Regions from separate parts of the Homo sapiens genome. Here all the other regions are linked to region 2. The links are contacts of gene promoters, found by promoter capture Hi-C in blood cells and fetal thymus (Javierre and others, 2016). All regions are on one chromosome and are shown on one strand. Each heading gives the region's core, a stretch centred on a gene start or on the middle of the fragment in contact. The rest is flanking DNA. Distances are from core to core; before and after follow the strand shown.

The links. Contacts are between HindIII fragments. The CHiCAGO score rates a contact against its expected background, and 5 or more counts as called.
Region 1: a contact is called between a fragment that was not itself captured here and the fragment with the promoter of SNX13 in region 2, in 1 of 17 cell types (neutrophils). The highest score is 6.6, in neutrophils.
Region 3: a contact is called between a fragment that was not itself captured here and the fragment with the promoter of SNX13 in region 2, in 1 of 17 cell types (neutrophils). The highest score is 9.4, in neutrophils.
Region 4: a contact is called between a fragment that was not itself captured here and the fragment with the promoter of SNX13 in region 2, in 1 of 17 cell types (neutrophils). The highest score is 14.7, in neutrophils.

Annotation. Positions count from the first base shown.
Region 1 is chr7:18,329,851-18,333,806 of GRCh38, reverse strand. It overlaps a transcript of HDAC9 not described here. Among named protein-coding and RNA genes, the nearest start is that of HDAC9, 160 kb to the left of the region's middle. The HindIII fragment of the contact is 1,637 bases long and covers 1,366-3,002 here.
Region 2 is chr7:17,938,976-17,942,691 of GRCh38, reverse strand. SNX13 (sorting nexin 13) reads left to right here and starts at 2,198. Exons shown (of 26, transcript NM_015132.5): 1 at 2,198-2,408. The coding sequence starts at 2,397. The HindIII fragment of the contact is 12,825 bases long and covers 1-3,716 here.
Region 3 is chr7:18,305,191-18,309,197 of GRCh38, reverse strand. It overlaps a transcript of HDAC9 not described here. Among named protein-coding and RNA genes, the nearest start is that of MIR1302-6, 180 kb to the right of the region's middle. The HindIII fragment of the contact is 1,231 bases long and covers 1,204-2,434 here.
Region 4 is chr7:18,349,475-18,352,978 of GRCh38, reverse strand. It overlaps a transcript of HDAC9 not described here. Among named protein-coding and RNA genes, the nearest start is that of HDAC9, 140 kb to the left of the region's middle. The HindIII fragment of the contact is 1,295 bases long and covers 907-2,201 here.

The DNA.
Region 1 (3,956 bases), core at 935-3,434, 390 kb before region 2:
TTTTTACTGATTCTTTAACTTTATATTTTATCATACCTCATTCTCCTTAACATTGCTAGATTATGTTTAAATTTTACCTTAAAAAATACCTAAATGATTTGCTGGGGTTTTTTGTTGTTGTTTGTTGTTTCATAGTGAAATTATTTAATACTAATATATTTGCCATGAGAACAGCTTTGGCTGCACCTCATAAGGTGCACCATTTTGTTTATTCCCTTAATGGTGTTACTATTTTCTAAATAACCTATGATTGCAAGTGTTTTAAAAACACATTTCATGGTGTGTATTTGAGGTTTATATCCTGATGACATGGGATATAGAGAGATAGTAAAATGGCTATATAGTGAAGCAGATGAACATAGCTATCATCTCACATAGTTACTATTTGTGTGTGACAAGAGCAGCTAAAATCTACTTAACAAAAATCCCTAATACTGTACAATTTTATTAACTTTAATCCTCATGTTGTACATGAGATCTCTTAATTAGTAATCCAACACATGTGCTATTTTGTATTCTTTGGCCTAAATCTCCCCATTTCCTCTCTCCAACTTCACCCCATCCAATGGTAAAGACTGTTTTAACATTCTCTATTTCTATCTCTAGTTGAGCTCTGTTTAAAAACTGCCTCTGACTCAGTAGTTTTTAATGGCTTGTTCCTTCCAAATCGTTGTTTATTTTGTATTACTGTTTTTTCTTACTAATTTCTGCTTTATTACATTGTGATCAGAGAATACAGTATAAAGAGTATCTTTTGGCACACAAATTAATACCTAACAATATCAGCAACTATATTTGGCATGACATAAACATAAATTTTGGCATAAAATAAATTAAGGCTTTTCAGACTTTAGTAAATACTCTGAGAAGGGATCCTTGTGTAAATTTATTTCCTCACAGTAGAATATTTCTGTCAAAGATTCCTGCACTTCTGAAATTAAGCCAGGTTTCTGCTTCTCCAGTGCCGTAAGGTGTATGTTGATTTCTCAGCCCCTAACAAAACTATTAGCTCACAGTCTACTGAACATGAAAAAAGATTACATCCTCTATCTTCAACACAAAAAGATAGGCCAAATTGAGATGTAGTATTTTTCAACTATTTAAATAATCACCATCTTGAATTTCTGGAAAGTATTTTAGAAATGCATTAATTGAAATCCACAGCAGCTCAACGGCTTGACTGCCATTCCACACCTAATATAGAGGAGCCAGGTGCAAAACATTTTTTTTAATCCCTGTGCCATAGCTCCCTTCCAATGCATCCCCTCTTTTATTGGACCAATTACGGAATATACTCAATTTTAAGTATTTTTAATTTATTTGGTTAGAAAAGCTACATGCAAGAAGAAAAGCAACAGTCAAGCTTAAGTGATGAGAATTTTTTAAAGTAAAAATCTCTCTCTCTCTCTCTCTCACACACACACACACACACACACACACACACATGTGCGCATGCACAGCCACAATTCACAGACACTTGGAAAAACTAAAAAATGGTCTTTGAGGTGGAATGAGGAAGGCTCTTAGGGGAACTCTGGCTAAACAGACCAGTTTATAATATTTACTTCTCAACCTTACCTTATTTCTACCAGAATATTTTGGTTGTTAGTTTGAAAATCTCTAAATGAAAAAATAATCAGGGAAATTATTAAGTATCTGTGTGTGAATTACTCACTCTGTTAGAAAGAACTTTTATTCGAACTCCAAAGAAAATAGATGGCACTGTTTTAAGCAAATTTAAACATCTGAATGACGGGCAAAGGCCATGAAAAGTATATTGTGCTTGACAGAAGTCCAGTATCTGTGTTCCAGTCCTGGCTCTGGAACCTGAGCATCTAACTCAATACTTCTCTAGGCCTCCTTTTCCTAAGAGGCTCCGCACATGTGATCACCACTGTGCCACTGAACTCAAATTTTGTGAACCTGAGTTTGGAGGTGATATTGTTTATTATTTCAAGCAATCTCTATTGAGGATCTACCAAGTGCCAGACAAAAATGCTATGATATAGAATATAGCATTTAAAAGGACAGTTCTAGTCCCTCTCTCCAACAAACTTGTAGCAGTCCACTACTTCATCACCTCGAATAAGGTAGGTAGTATACTTAAGATAATCATTATTCTAATATATTTTTCCTGTGTACACAATAGACATTTTGTACTTCTTTTTTTAAAATTTTTTTATTATACTTTAAGTTCTGGGATACATTTTGAACTTCTTTGGGAGTAACTTGAGGTTGATGAAAACAAAAACAAGAAAAGTTAAACATTTCTGTTACATTCTGCAAGCGATACTACAGGGTCAAAAAGTTACATTTTACTACACAACTAATAAAAGGTAGTGCTATATTCCTCAGCTACATTTTTGTCTGATATTATTAGAGCTATTCTAATTTTAACTGAAAATATGTATTTCCTGAAAATATGTTAACTGAACACATCTTTTCTTTTCATTAAAAAACACGATTTTTCATTATGCCATATCAGAGATTAATAACAAAAGTAAAAGATAATTAGGCAAAGGCAAAGACATTTAAAATAAATGAAATTCACAAATGTATTACATGCCTGATTGGCTAAAATTAAACAACTAATCTGAATATGACTGATGGGAATGATGCTGAAGGAACAATTAAAACAAAAGCTAAGAGGCTCTGCACATGTGATCACTTCAAGTTAGGTGTCTTGTTATTTTCCATTTACCTCTTGATAGTTGTACCTATCAAATGCAAAACCTATGATCAGTTTCCCATCTCTGTTTATGGTTGTGATAACAGAGAAACCAGTTATTAATTGGTCAACTCAAATTGTATTCATGTATTACTGTATGTCTGTGTAATCCTCCTTGATCTAAAATTTCCCTGATTCTCCTCAGGGTTATTTGCCTTGTGTTAGTAAAACCAGGATGCCACAATGCTAAACTTACTGTTCTGCCATTTGTTTCAGATTATTCTTCCTACATGCTCCAATTTGCATAACTTTATTGTTTTGTAGATTCTAAGCTTGTGAATTTATTACCAAGGCACCTGCCAGTGTTACTGTATTTAAGGAACTGTCAGCAGTTTCTATTTTGGGGTTCTAAGTTGGCTACAAAAATTCACTCTGGGATAAATTTTGGCATGTGTTATAAGGTAACAAACCAAAAGTGACTTATTTTTAGAAAACAGGGAGGGAGTAGAGGGGAAATAGTTTTTGGTTGTTTTTTTTTTCCCTCCTGAGGTATAGAAATATAAAATCAAAAACAGAAGTTGGTGGTTTCAGAAGTATTCTAAGAGATTAATTCTCTTTGGTTTTTCTGAAGTTAATATCTTTTCAACCCATTAGTCAACATTACAGACTAATGCTTTGGGGGACTGTGACAAAATATTAAAAATATCTGTTCTATTTACAGACAAGGTATCTTGTATGTCCATTAATTTTAATAGTGGAATAGCAGTTTTAGGAGAAAAATATAATCCATTTAGTGAAAACTAAATGTGAACTAACAAGTTTCAGATTTCCGGCAAATATCTAAGTGTCTGAAATACCACCCCAAGTGTCCCCACACCACACATCTACTCACTATTATCACAGAGCTTCACTAAAGTGTGAAGAATTACAGATGCCCTGGGTTTCATTTAGTTTTGAACCTATGTCTCTGAAAAGAATCTTCACAATCTAAATCTTCATTTGGCAAGCAGAAAAGATTGATAAGTATAACTAGAACATCTGCAAAATAATATAATCAGAAAATTTTTATTTTCCCAAAGCATCAAGGTATGAGAGGTGGGTATCATACCTTCCCATTATTCTCACACACGGAACACACACACACACACACACACATACACACAAGCCTTAGAATGCAGCAATAAAATAGACCCAAAGTACCTTAGAAGTAAAATATACACTATTCCCAAAGCAAAACTAGTAAGAATGTTGTGGCTAGCTAAACGGTAGTTAAACATTTCTTCAGTAC
Region 2 (3,716 bases), core at 949-3,448:
ATGACGATGTTAGAAGGTTAGAAGGTAAGTACTATGAAAAAAACAGAAGCAAGGAAGGGAGGATTCTGGGGAAGGGGCAATATTTTAAATGAGATGATTAGGGTAGGCTTCTTTGAAAAAAGATGACTTTTAAGCAAAGATTGGACAGAAGTGGAAGATCTAGCCATGCAGGTATTTGGTGGAAAGATCTTTGCAGATAGAAACTATACACAGTGTAAGGGCCTCAGGGCAAGAAGATGCCTTGGTGTTACAGAAGCAGGGAGCAGGTCTGTGTAACTGGAACAAAGTGCTTAGCAGAAATGAGGTCAGAGGGGTGGAGGTGAGGTAGGACTTGGGAGGCCAGCTAGCATAGGATTTTTAGGTTGCAGAAAAGACTCAGGCTGAGAAAATTAGGAAGCCATTGGAAGAGCGACTACTTTTGGTTTCCTTGTAAGTCTGTAGACAAACTTCTGAAAGTTAAAGGCATATTCATGTCATATCACAGATTGGTTCAATACTCAAGTGTCAACACTTAATGCCTTGCTTCTAGAAAAGATAAAAAGATGTAGTAAATAAAACTGAATACTCAAGCCAGACAACTACATTGCTGTTTTAATTTACTAGCTGGTATCTTAAATATTAATGAACCTCCTTCTCTGTTTTCTTATTTACAGGTTGGAACACTATCTTTTTCCAGGTTCCTTGTTGTCTCTAGTATCTCTTGGTATCCTTTGATACCTCAGTCCAGGTAGGATTTCCATGCTCATTTTCTATTTGTGGCTTCATCTGTCAATACCAGTAACACATTTTATTGTATTGCAGAGGTCAGAATTTTGCTGGTCCAGCAATGTGGAAATGATGTACAAAATGCAGATTAAAACAACAAGAAAAACTACTTTGCTTCAATTAGTTGAATTGAGCAAAATCAGTTTTTCTTGAATTTTTTGCATGACTGCTTAAATGAACCGTTTTGTTTCCTTGACACGATAGAGATAATACAAGGTTTGCAATGCCCTTATTGTTTTGAGACTGTAAGAGTAATACATTAAGTAAATTTCATTTAGCACAACAGTACTATTGTTAAATGGAGGGAAAAGATTCTGGTAAAAGGGAAGAAACTCCTGGCTTTAGTTTTCTAAAATGCTTTTGTACCTCTTGTAAGAATGACATGGAGGTGTTTTTAATGTCAAGTCTGAAAATTTGCTTTTCAATTTACTTGGAAACTGGTTTCTAATACAAAACAGGGTAGCACACTTTCCCAGCATGTTCAGGTAAACTACTTTCATCACAATTCAGGTAGAAGTGACTGCCTTTAATTCCGTACATCGCAAACCATCTAGTGGTAGATCTAGAATGGCGTCAGTCTCAGGGACTTCTATGCACATTGAGTTCCAGAGTTCAATTCCATTTAAGTTGGGACTATTTACAATGACATTTGCTGAAATTTGCTCACCTTGATATACAAGCATATTGTATTAAGCAGCTAGTAAACCTGTGGAGATAGCAGGTAAAACGTAAAGCCTGTTTTACGTTTTTTTAGAGGTGCATTACTTGTAGCATAACTAAACCTTCATTGTTAGGCAGGTGCTGGCCAATTACATCAGCAAGTCCTAACTCCGCTAGGATCGGGGTAAAGCCGATAAGCCGCATCATATCTACAACCTGTCTCGGACCCCTGTAAAGAACTCACTGAGGATTGGTAGGGACAAAGGGAAGTTTCTGTCAAAGTTTAGGAGAAAAGGGCCGCGCAGGGAGCTGTTTCAAATAACACTTAAATCCCAGGAGAAGAAAGCCGAACCCCAACTCTTCGGTCGCCGCGGGGCCAGGGAGACGCGAGAGGGAAGTTTTTCTAAAGGAAATCTGCCGCCTTGTCCCCAAGACCAGCGAGGTCCGCAGCGCCATCAGTCAAGTGTCGGCCTCTGGCATTTTCTCCTCTCCCCAGGGCGGGCCAACGCTAGTGGGCGGTGGATGATGCGCCGGCCCCAAGGGCGCGCACGTCCATTCCCGGAAGGCTCGGGCGCTGGGGCCCCTCTGCACTCCCAGCGGTCCCAAGTTGGCCCAGGCGCCCGGTCCCGGGGTCCTACAAGTCAGCGCCAAGCCGACTGCCGACAGCCTACCTCCGCTTCTCCGCGCGCCGGCGCTATGGAGACGGTCACGAGACGCCAGCAGCCCCTGCGCCCGCCAATGGGAACGCACGTTGCAGCGAGACGCGGACGTCGCTCTTCCAAGATGGCGGCGCGTCCGTCGCGAGCGACCGGGCCGAGGGGAGGCCAGCGAAGCCGAGTAAAACCGCCGCCCGGGAGAAGACTGAAGGAGCAGTTGCCGCCGTTGGCGGCGGCCCGAGCAGTTTTCGCTGCTGCTACGGCTGTTGCCATGAGGCGAGGCTAGGGAGGACCTCACTTCCCCGGGGTGTAATAATGTTAACTGAGGTAAGCGGCGACGGTGGCCAGTGTTTACCTGTGAAATGGGGAAGGGGCCGGCGCCAGCCCGTCAGAGAACATCATCTGTACGGAAGGTGGGCCTGACCCTTCGCCGTGGGCTCCAGGGCCCGAGGAGCAGCGGGGATCCTACAAGTGCCCTCAGAGTAGGAGCTGTGCTGACTCAACAGAGTCCCACCACCTCCGGCTGCCAGTGCCTCGCCTTTCGCAGTTGCCACTTGCCACTCGCCCCTGGCACTGGTCTCCCTCCTGCTGTCACTCCCTTCTAACTCATCGCTCCCTTCTTCGTGTCCCCTTACACGCTACTCTGTGGCAGCGTTGGCCTTTCCACGTTACTGCTGGTTCTTGTGATCCTATGGTTTGCCCTAGGTCTCCTTTCTCTGGTCCCTGGGCTCCAGGGCCCTCCGCCTCCGAGCTCGGTCAGCACCCTGGGGTTGTTGCTCGGCCCGACCGGTTTGTTTCCCACCCTCTACTTTGACTGCTTCATGAAGTGGACTTTTTTATCTCAAGCTGCACATGTATGGCTCAGTTGGGTCATCCCCCTCCCCCACATCCATCACCTTTTCGGTTAAATCGTGGTCATCACAAAGTTCAGTTTAGCATCTGCCACCTTGATTTGCGTGTGGCCCCCTTGTTACTCCCTATGGAATAGTTTTTTTCTTTGGACCTGAAATGGAAGTAGGGCAACTATGACGAACCAATCAATTTCCCTTTTCTAGTGCCTAATGGGCATTGCAAAAAGCCGACTTTTTGAAGAAGTAGAGTTTGCCTTTACTAGCAACACTTTAAGGGGAAGAACTAAATCGGTGCAACTAGGTACTTGACCCAGGTTAGCCCAGTTATGTGTTGTAGTATCTGCAGGTGTAGGTGTCACTGAACATAAAATACTGAACCTTGTGATTTGATGAAATACCTTTTTCGAAGCCTTTCACTTTAAGTACTGTGAGGATCCTGACGTGAGGAACTGACCGGATTGGGCATTTTTATGGGCTGAACTGAATAGGAAACAGTTTTAGTGGGCAATGGGAAGTATTCCTACATGGGCCAAAAAGGAAATACAAACATTTGTAGGTGAGTGGCTTTTATTTTGTGAAAAGTGATGGTAAAGCACGTACTTGCCTGAAATTTCAGGTCCTTGGAACGTGACTAACTTTGAGGAACTTTATACTTTGCTGTTTGTACTTAATCTAAGCACAGAGCCTGGCATATGATAAATACTTACTGGTTGATTGTAACTTCTACAGTACGTATTTTTAGTTGTTTGAAGTTCATTTTATATTTCTAAATTCTACAGATTTT
Region 3 (4,007 bases), core at 570-3,069, 370 kb before region 2:
GGGCTGAACATTTCATTGTCCTTGAAATGATTTATTTCAACTCCTCCCAAACGCCATAGAACAAGCTCAGCTTTACAATACTTCTGGTCAAAGTCTCAGTAAACTCACAATTATGCATTGAAATGTGGGTAATATGGATTGACTTAGAGATCTCCACAAACACAAGCAGATAATTTGCATATATTCTCCAAAGGAATTGGAGTTGACACGAATTCTCCTCTCACCAGCCATGTGACTTTGTTCAGGTTCCCTGGTGTTTCTGGACCTGTTTCTACATCTATGCACACAGGTAAAGCCTGCATCATAAAGTGGATCTGAAGAAGGGATCATTCAACAAACCCTATCTTCCTGTCTTAGTATTTACCCATAAAAACTCATACGAATCCCCAGAATTTGAGTTTAAATTAGAGAACAGCAAGAATAAGAGAAAATATAATGGCTAACATCTTTTCATATCCTACAGATATATATACACACGTACACACATATATATATATGTAACTTATATCCTTGCTTAATATAGTTTCCACTTCTTTTTGTTATAAATCTGACACAAGAAAAAGATTAATAGAACATTCTTTCCAGGTCAGACACACCTAATATATTTTTCTCCATGAAGTAGCACATCTTCAATCACCTACTGAGTACACCAAAACTTTTATATATCTTTAAGAAATGTAAAATCCAATACCACGTACTAAATGCAGATTAAATATCATTTTGAAAGGGAGTATGGTATATTTACAGCAAATGATGATTAGGCTATGAAGTGCCCAAAGCTTAAATAATTACAGATCAGAGTTCGAGTGTACCTTTTCCTCAAAAGAAAAGTTCTTTTCTTGTATATGGTTAAGCAAATTTATATAACTATGAAAGAAACAAGGCTACAACAGTGATTTATTTTCTTCTGATGTTTAAAAGTATTCTACGTAGGCTTGGTTTTGCAAATTTCACATTTTAATTAACCTAGTTCATATAGATTGCTAAAACCAACTTCGTAAATTGGATGAAGTCTTTAACAATCAACATCAGTCAGTGACACTATTAAAATGTTTAAGCTACTTGGCAATATAAATTAAGGCAAAGTTCTTAAAATTACATTTGAGTTTGAAAACATGTATTTTTATATTTGTAACACTTTCATATACATGTATATTTGTAGGTATCAGAAATGGTTTTTCTTCTAGAACTTTTTGAAAAGCTTCCAAGTATTTTCATTTCCTGGAAAGTATATCTAGTCAGATGGAGAACCATTGGTGCATATATTCCACACCCTGACCTTTGGTGTTAGTGACATCGGCTGTTTTGTTAATGTGTGATAATTGTTTTTAAAATATTACTATGACTTTAATAATAATTACGATTTTTTTCAATTTTACAATTTAAAAAAAATTTGGGACAGAGTCTCACTCTGTCACCCAGGCTGGAGTGCAGCGGCACAATTTTGGCTCACTGCAACCTCTGCCTCCTGGGCTCAAGGGATTCTCCTGTCTCAGCCTCCCGAGTAGCTGGGGCTACATGTATGTACCACCATACCTGGCTAATTTTTGTATTTTTAATAGAGGCAGGGTTTCACCATGTTGGTCAGCCTGGCCCACAACTCCTGACCTCAGGTGATCTGCCCGCCTCACACTCCCAAAGTGCTGGGAATGCAAGCGTGAGCCATGGCACCAGGCAATAATTTTGATTTTATAATGTTAGAAACTAGTTTTAGAATCTAAGAAAGAGCAAGCACTTTATTTGTGAAAATGACATGGTAACAAGAACTTTGGGGGAAATGAATTTTTTTATAATGGTCTTGAACAATTACCATTATTTTCACAAAATTCAATGTGTTCAAGATGATTCTCATATTCAGAACCTTTCTAATACACGTCAGAACTTTCATTTATGTGCCCTCCCTTTGTACTCATGGATTAACAGGTATAAATGTTCATGGTTGTTGAGGTGTCAATTACTTGCCCACGGACTCAAAGCTCATAAATGAGGAAGCCAGGATTTGAACTTGAGAGGTATGGCTTTAAAAAAGATACTCTTGCCTCCTCCTATACAAACACACACACACACACACACACACACACACACACACACACACACACAAGAACTGCCCTCCTGTAGCTGAAGGGCCAAGATATAAACACACAATAAATTTAATAACATAAGAAAAAATTAACTTCACATTAATAGATAGAATACATGTCACAATGTTAACTGTGGAATGAGGTCCACGAGAGAAGTGAGATCTCAGCCTGCTGGCTCAGATGACCAGGGGAGATGGCTGCATGAGGGAGTTTGGAAACAGACATGGAGAATGGAAAGAATTTAAGTAAGTGGGGGGTGTTTCGCAAATCCAAAATAGCACAAGCAAAAAGGAGTGTGAGTAAATAAGTCTGGTTGGAGTGAAGAATTTATATTCAGCAATATTGATGAAGCTTGAAAAACAGTTGAAATAACTGTAGAAATCTTAAAGTCTGAGGAGTTAAGACTTAATCCTGCCAGCATGAATATCCATCCAAAGATCGTAAGCAAGAAAATGCCTGGATCAAAAGGCGTTGAAGAAAAGTAATTACCAGCAGCACGAATAGCACCACTTGGAGAGAGACCAAAAGTATGTGTAGAAGGCTTCAGAATCTATTGGTCAATTCCAAACTACCCCTATATTACTCAGTCTTAATTAAACTTAGATTACTATCATCTTTTCTTTCCTACAAAGGCTGCTACTTCAAAACCATGTAAACATATTTCTGGAGCATGGGTAAAACTCAGATTTACTTCTGAAAACACATCATAGCAGATGCTATCAACAGTCCACCCATATCTCCTTGCTTTTGCGACTGCAGTACACACTGGCCAGACATTGACTTCTAACTGTAACGATTGGATGTATTTTTCAGTGGCCAGAAGTGCTGAGGAATTAACATCCCCACCCATAGTCTGAGTCCTACCCACAGCAGCCCCCAACTAATAACGATGTTCAGGAGTTGGTATTGAAATACCCCAGCTCCTCACCCTGTGTGCCTGTTGTACAGAGATTTCCAGAGTTCCCCAGCAGAATTAAGCTTTAGTTACCTAGCACACCAACTTACTTGATAACATATTGTTTTTTGGCTGCCTTCCATTCCCTGCCTCATTTCCCCTATTGGAGTTTCCTGGGATCTCCTCCCAAATAAACAACTTACACTTCATTCCATGTCTCAGGACTGGGGAGTGAATTGCTGAGGGCGGGAATAAATTCAAACTAAAATACATCTTGGTGTTCTAGCTCACTCATCTTGGCTCAGGTTACCTTCCTCGTTCCAGTTAGTCCCTCAAAACCTGGGAAGTACTTCCCTTCACCAACCCATTCCAAGTTCACCTTATCAGCCCAGGCCACTGTACCAAGTTCCTTTCCTAAACCCTTAAGCAATTACTGCCTGCACTCTTTACTCACTCTATATTACATGGTGTGCTATGCATATGTCTTGTCTTCTCATCTATTAGACCCCTGCCCAGAGATCAGAAACTTTGTTTCTTTGTGTGCTCTACAAGGGTACAACAGAACTATGTGTCATTCAAACAGTTCTAGATTACTACTTCTCTGGTTGACTTACAGACCAGAAAACCTGATGATAAAAGGGGAGTCATGCTTTATTTAGCTTTGAGTTATGTTTCTTTGGACACATATGGGTTGGTACAGTGGAAGAAGGTGAAAGGACCAGCAAATGTGAATGTGGATTTCTAGCTTCAGTGGAAGCAAACTATTCCAGAACATGTTTTCATTTTCCTTTTTCAGAATTAGTCGAGAAAGTGGGGAAACTAACAATATTTCTTTTTCTTTTACTCAAACCTAATATTATTCATGTATTTTCATATTTGATGACTGTTTATTGAGAACCTGCTATGTGTCAGGCACCGGCCTAGGATATCTACATGCACTGGTTGGTGGAGGGTATACGATTTTTGCTATTGTGGCACTTATCATCAAGAGTGAAGATGGAAAAAGATACACAGTGTGCCAGTAAAAACAA
Region 4 (3,504 bases), core at 305-2,804, 410 kb before region 2:
CTCAAAATATTTTGCTGATTTGTTAAGGTACTGGAAGATATTTTGCTGGCCGCCGAGCTGACCTTCTGCAACACCCTATATGGTGAGGCTGTTAAAAGATTTTCTTAGAAGATACAGATTTGTATTTTAGAGTAAGACAGAGACAAAAACAAGGATCATGAAATGGAGGTTCACAAGTATCTGAACCAAAGTGGGGAAAAGGGGGGAAAAAAACAAACATCAGCCAGCTCCTTATTTGCACACCGAGATTCACTAACTCTATATGGTAAGTCCTATTTCCCGTCATTTTCCCTGAATCTAGCATGCTAACCATCATAACGAAAAAGAGTTTGTTTTCACCTTTACGTTCCCTTTGAGTATTTAAAACGGGGAATGACTCACATCTCACAAGGCCAAGAATCTTTGAAATGAACTTCTGGAAAATTTAAAGGTACCTGGAGCTCCTGCAACAAATATAAGACTGCACTGCCCTCCAGAGGTGACTCCCTGGCAATTACCTTTAATCAATTAATGATAGGAGGACCAAGTAACTGTGTTGCAGTAATCTTCATTGCAATTTTAGTCCTTCTATCTCAAATAGTTTTCAAAACACAGGACTAAAAATCAGTGGCAACCTACTGTTTCCCTCTAAGCAGAATATTATATTGTCTCAGCTCTTCTATCTTACTTCATTTTGTTTGAAAATAATATTTGCTACCTCTTTGGCTAAATGTTAAATATTAATATTTTTGGTTGGAGGGCCTATTTATTCATGTACATTTTTCAGAAAAATCAGATTAAACAGACAGCCTAAGGAAACCTTAAGAAACCTGAGGATCCTCAGAGATAACTGAAGGTCACACAAAGAACAGTTCAGAAACAGAATATTTTACTGTCTAATTATGTTGTCATCACTTAACTGAAGCTTGAAGGGTGCCCACAGTTATTGTGAGAAAAATATAAACTCATTTTGAATTTTTTTCTTCTTGAGCTTTTGTTCTCCACAGCTATGTGATCTAGTTCTGTTCTGTTCCACACACACCTTCCAATAGTGGATAACCTTGTATATTGTCACTTTCCACATATTCACCGTCAATTCAAATTTTTTGAGATTTAAGACAAGGCTAATAATTTCTTGATAAAATTGTAATAACCTGTGTGTGTGCCTGTATGAATGACTCAAAACACATCTTTTAAAAGTTCTTGACAAAATTAAACATTATCTACACAGCAAATATTTATGTAGGGCTTTGCAAATGCTAACTCATTTAATAATCACAACAGCTATGCAACAGATAGTTTTACTATCATTCACCTTTTTTTACAGATGAGGCAGATTTTGAGAGATTAACAAAATCACAGAGCTGGGACATGATAGAGCTGAGATTCAACTTCAGTTTAGCTTCAGCGTCCTGGTTCCTAACTTCCTCACTTTGCTTTACATGGTCATTTAAATATATATATCTTCCCTCCCATTATAAAAAGCATTAATAAGATTTAAAATAAAGTTGATACTTTTAATATAGCTGTCTTTTTTTGTTTTGGGGGATTTTTGTTTTATTTTACAATTCATAACACATAGGAAACTTAAAAAATATTAAAACTCTGGGAGATCAAAATGTTGGAAGACAGAATGAAATTGGAAAACAAATTTTTTGTGTGATTACTGCAAATTTTACCAAGTCATTAATCTTTAAGGGGAAAAATATTGAAGCAACATGGAAAAATGTTAACTATCTTACAACGATAAATAAAAATTATATAAGTAAATCAGGCAATGATGTATTAAAGTCAGTATTACATTTTATCTTGTAAATATCAAGCAACTGTTTAGTGTTTTTGAAATAAATCATTGTGATTATGTTTAACGCAATAAAAAATAAAGCAGAAAAAACTATTTACAGCCGACTACTAAATTCATGAAGGAAAAAAAGGAGTTAAGAGGAGACTTTGATTCAATCACAGAGGCTCCGTCACAGACCTACAGTCATTTAACTTAGGCAGGGGTTATAAAATGTATTTCAGGTTGCACTTACAAAACAATGTTCTTGCACCAAGCACGGGTCGACCAGCTACCCAGCGGCTGGGTTCAGAAACTAGAAGGCCCCTGGGAAAGCAGCTCAGTAACTACAAAGCAAATGTGGTCAATGCCCAGTGTCGTTATGGGGATTAGACAGGGGTCACAGCTTCACGGCAGCACCTGCACAGCTATGACATAAGCTTATATTCGACATAAATCATATTCCCTCTGTTTTGAAAGCAAATAATAAAAGAGTTGTTCCATGTCTCTTGACCTTTATTTCTGGGAAAAGTGGATTTTTCCCTTACAGCTATGGAATGTACTAACCATTCCCAGTGGGACAGACTTAGAAACCCCGTCATAGAACAAATGTATAAATATCCACCTTCTCACTTCCAAAGTGATTTGCATCTTACACATCAGTAAAGTATTACTATTTTCTAAAGTAGCTTAAAATAAGGAGAGAAGGGAGAGTGAGAAGGAAGAAAACACACAAAGAGGATACCTGAAAGAGGAAATTAAAATACTTGTATTGATGAAGATACGTGATTGACCAGCTGGTGATAAAGAGAAATTAGATGAGTATTGTCACTGACAGTTGCTAAATGTTGTTTTGCACAAATGCCAGTAAACCTGGTACACAATTAGCTCCTGAATCCATTTTTTTCATGGAATCCAATTACTCAAAATTACTGCCTCCAAAAAGAAAAATTGCTTTTCAAAACTTGGCATTAACATTACTTGAGAGTCAATGAAATGATGTTTTCAGATCTTGAATTTTTAAAATAAATTCTAATTTATTAAAGACTAATGACTTTTGAACCACTGAGTTATACACAGGTACAATAATTCTGAATACCCACAAATACAACTTGAAATAAAGGCAAACTTCAAAATAAAAGATAATAACAAGAGGGAGAAAAAACCTGGAAAACCTATTGAATTAGCATTACCATGCTTATATACTACTATTAATAATAATGAATGATGGCCAGAACTGGCACAAACGAAGTATTCTGTCAGCAAGTAGAAGACCTCCTAATACTGAAGTAATACCTAATTCTCACATATGTTCCAAAGCCCTAATTTCCAAAGCAAAGAACAACTGAAATATACTAAGTATTAATATTGAATAGCCACTTCATTATTTGAGTAAGGGATCTTTCCAAAAACCTTTTATTCTAAATATTCTACATAGAAAGACATATTTTTTCTGCATAGTGCTATTCCTGTTGGCGTGAAAAGTAAAACACAACACCACATTTTTTTTTTTGTCAGGAACTTTGTTTAGAAAAGTATACTTAACAAAGACAATATTAGGGTAACCACCAAGATATCACATATGAAGTTCTAATGCTGTGAAAATTATAAAATTACTAACATAAAGAATATCAGATATGTCCCCCAATTCAATGTTTGAGAATCAAATATTTATTGCATCCCTGCTATGTGCTAGGCAGTGGGGATAAAGCAGATAACATTAAGCTACCATTCTCAGGCACTAA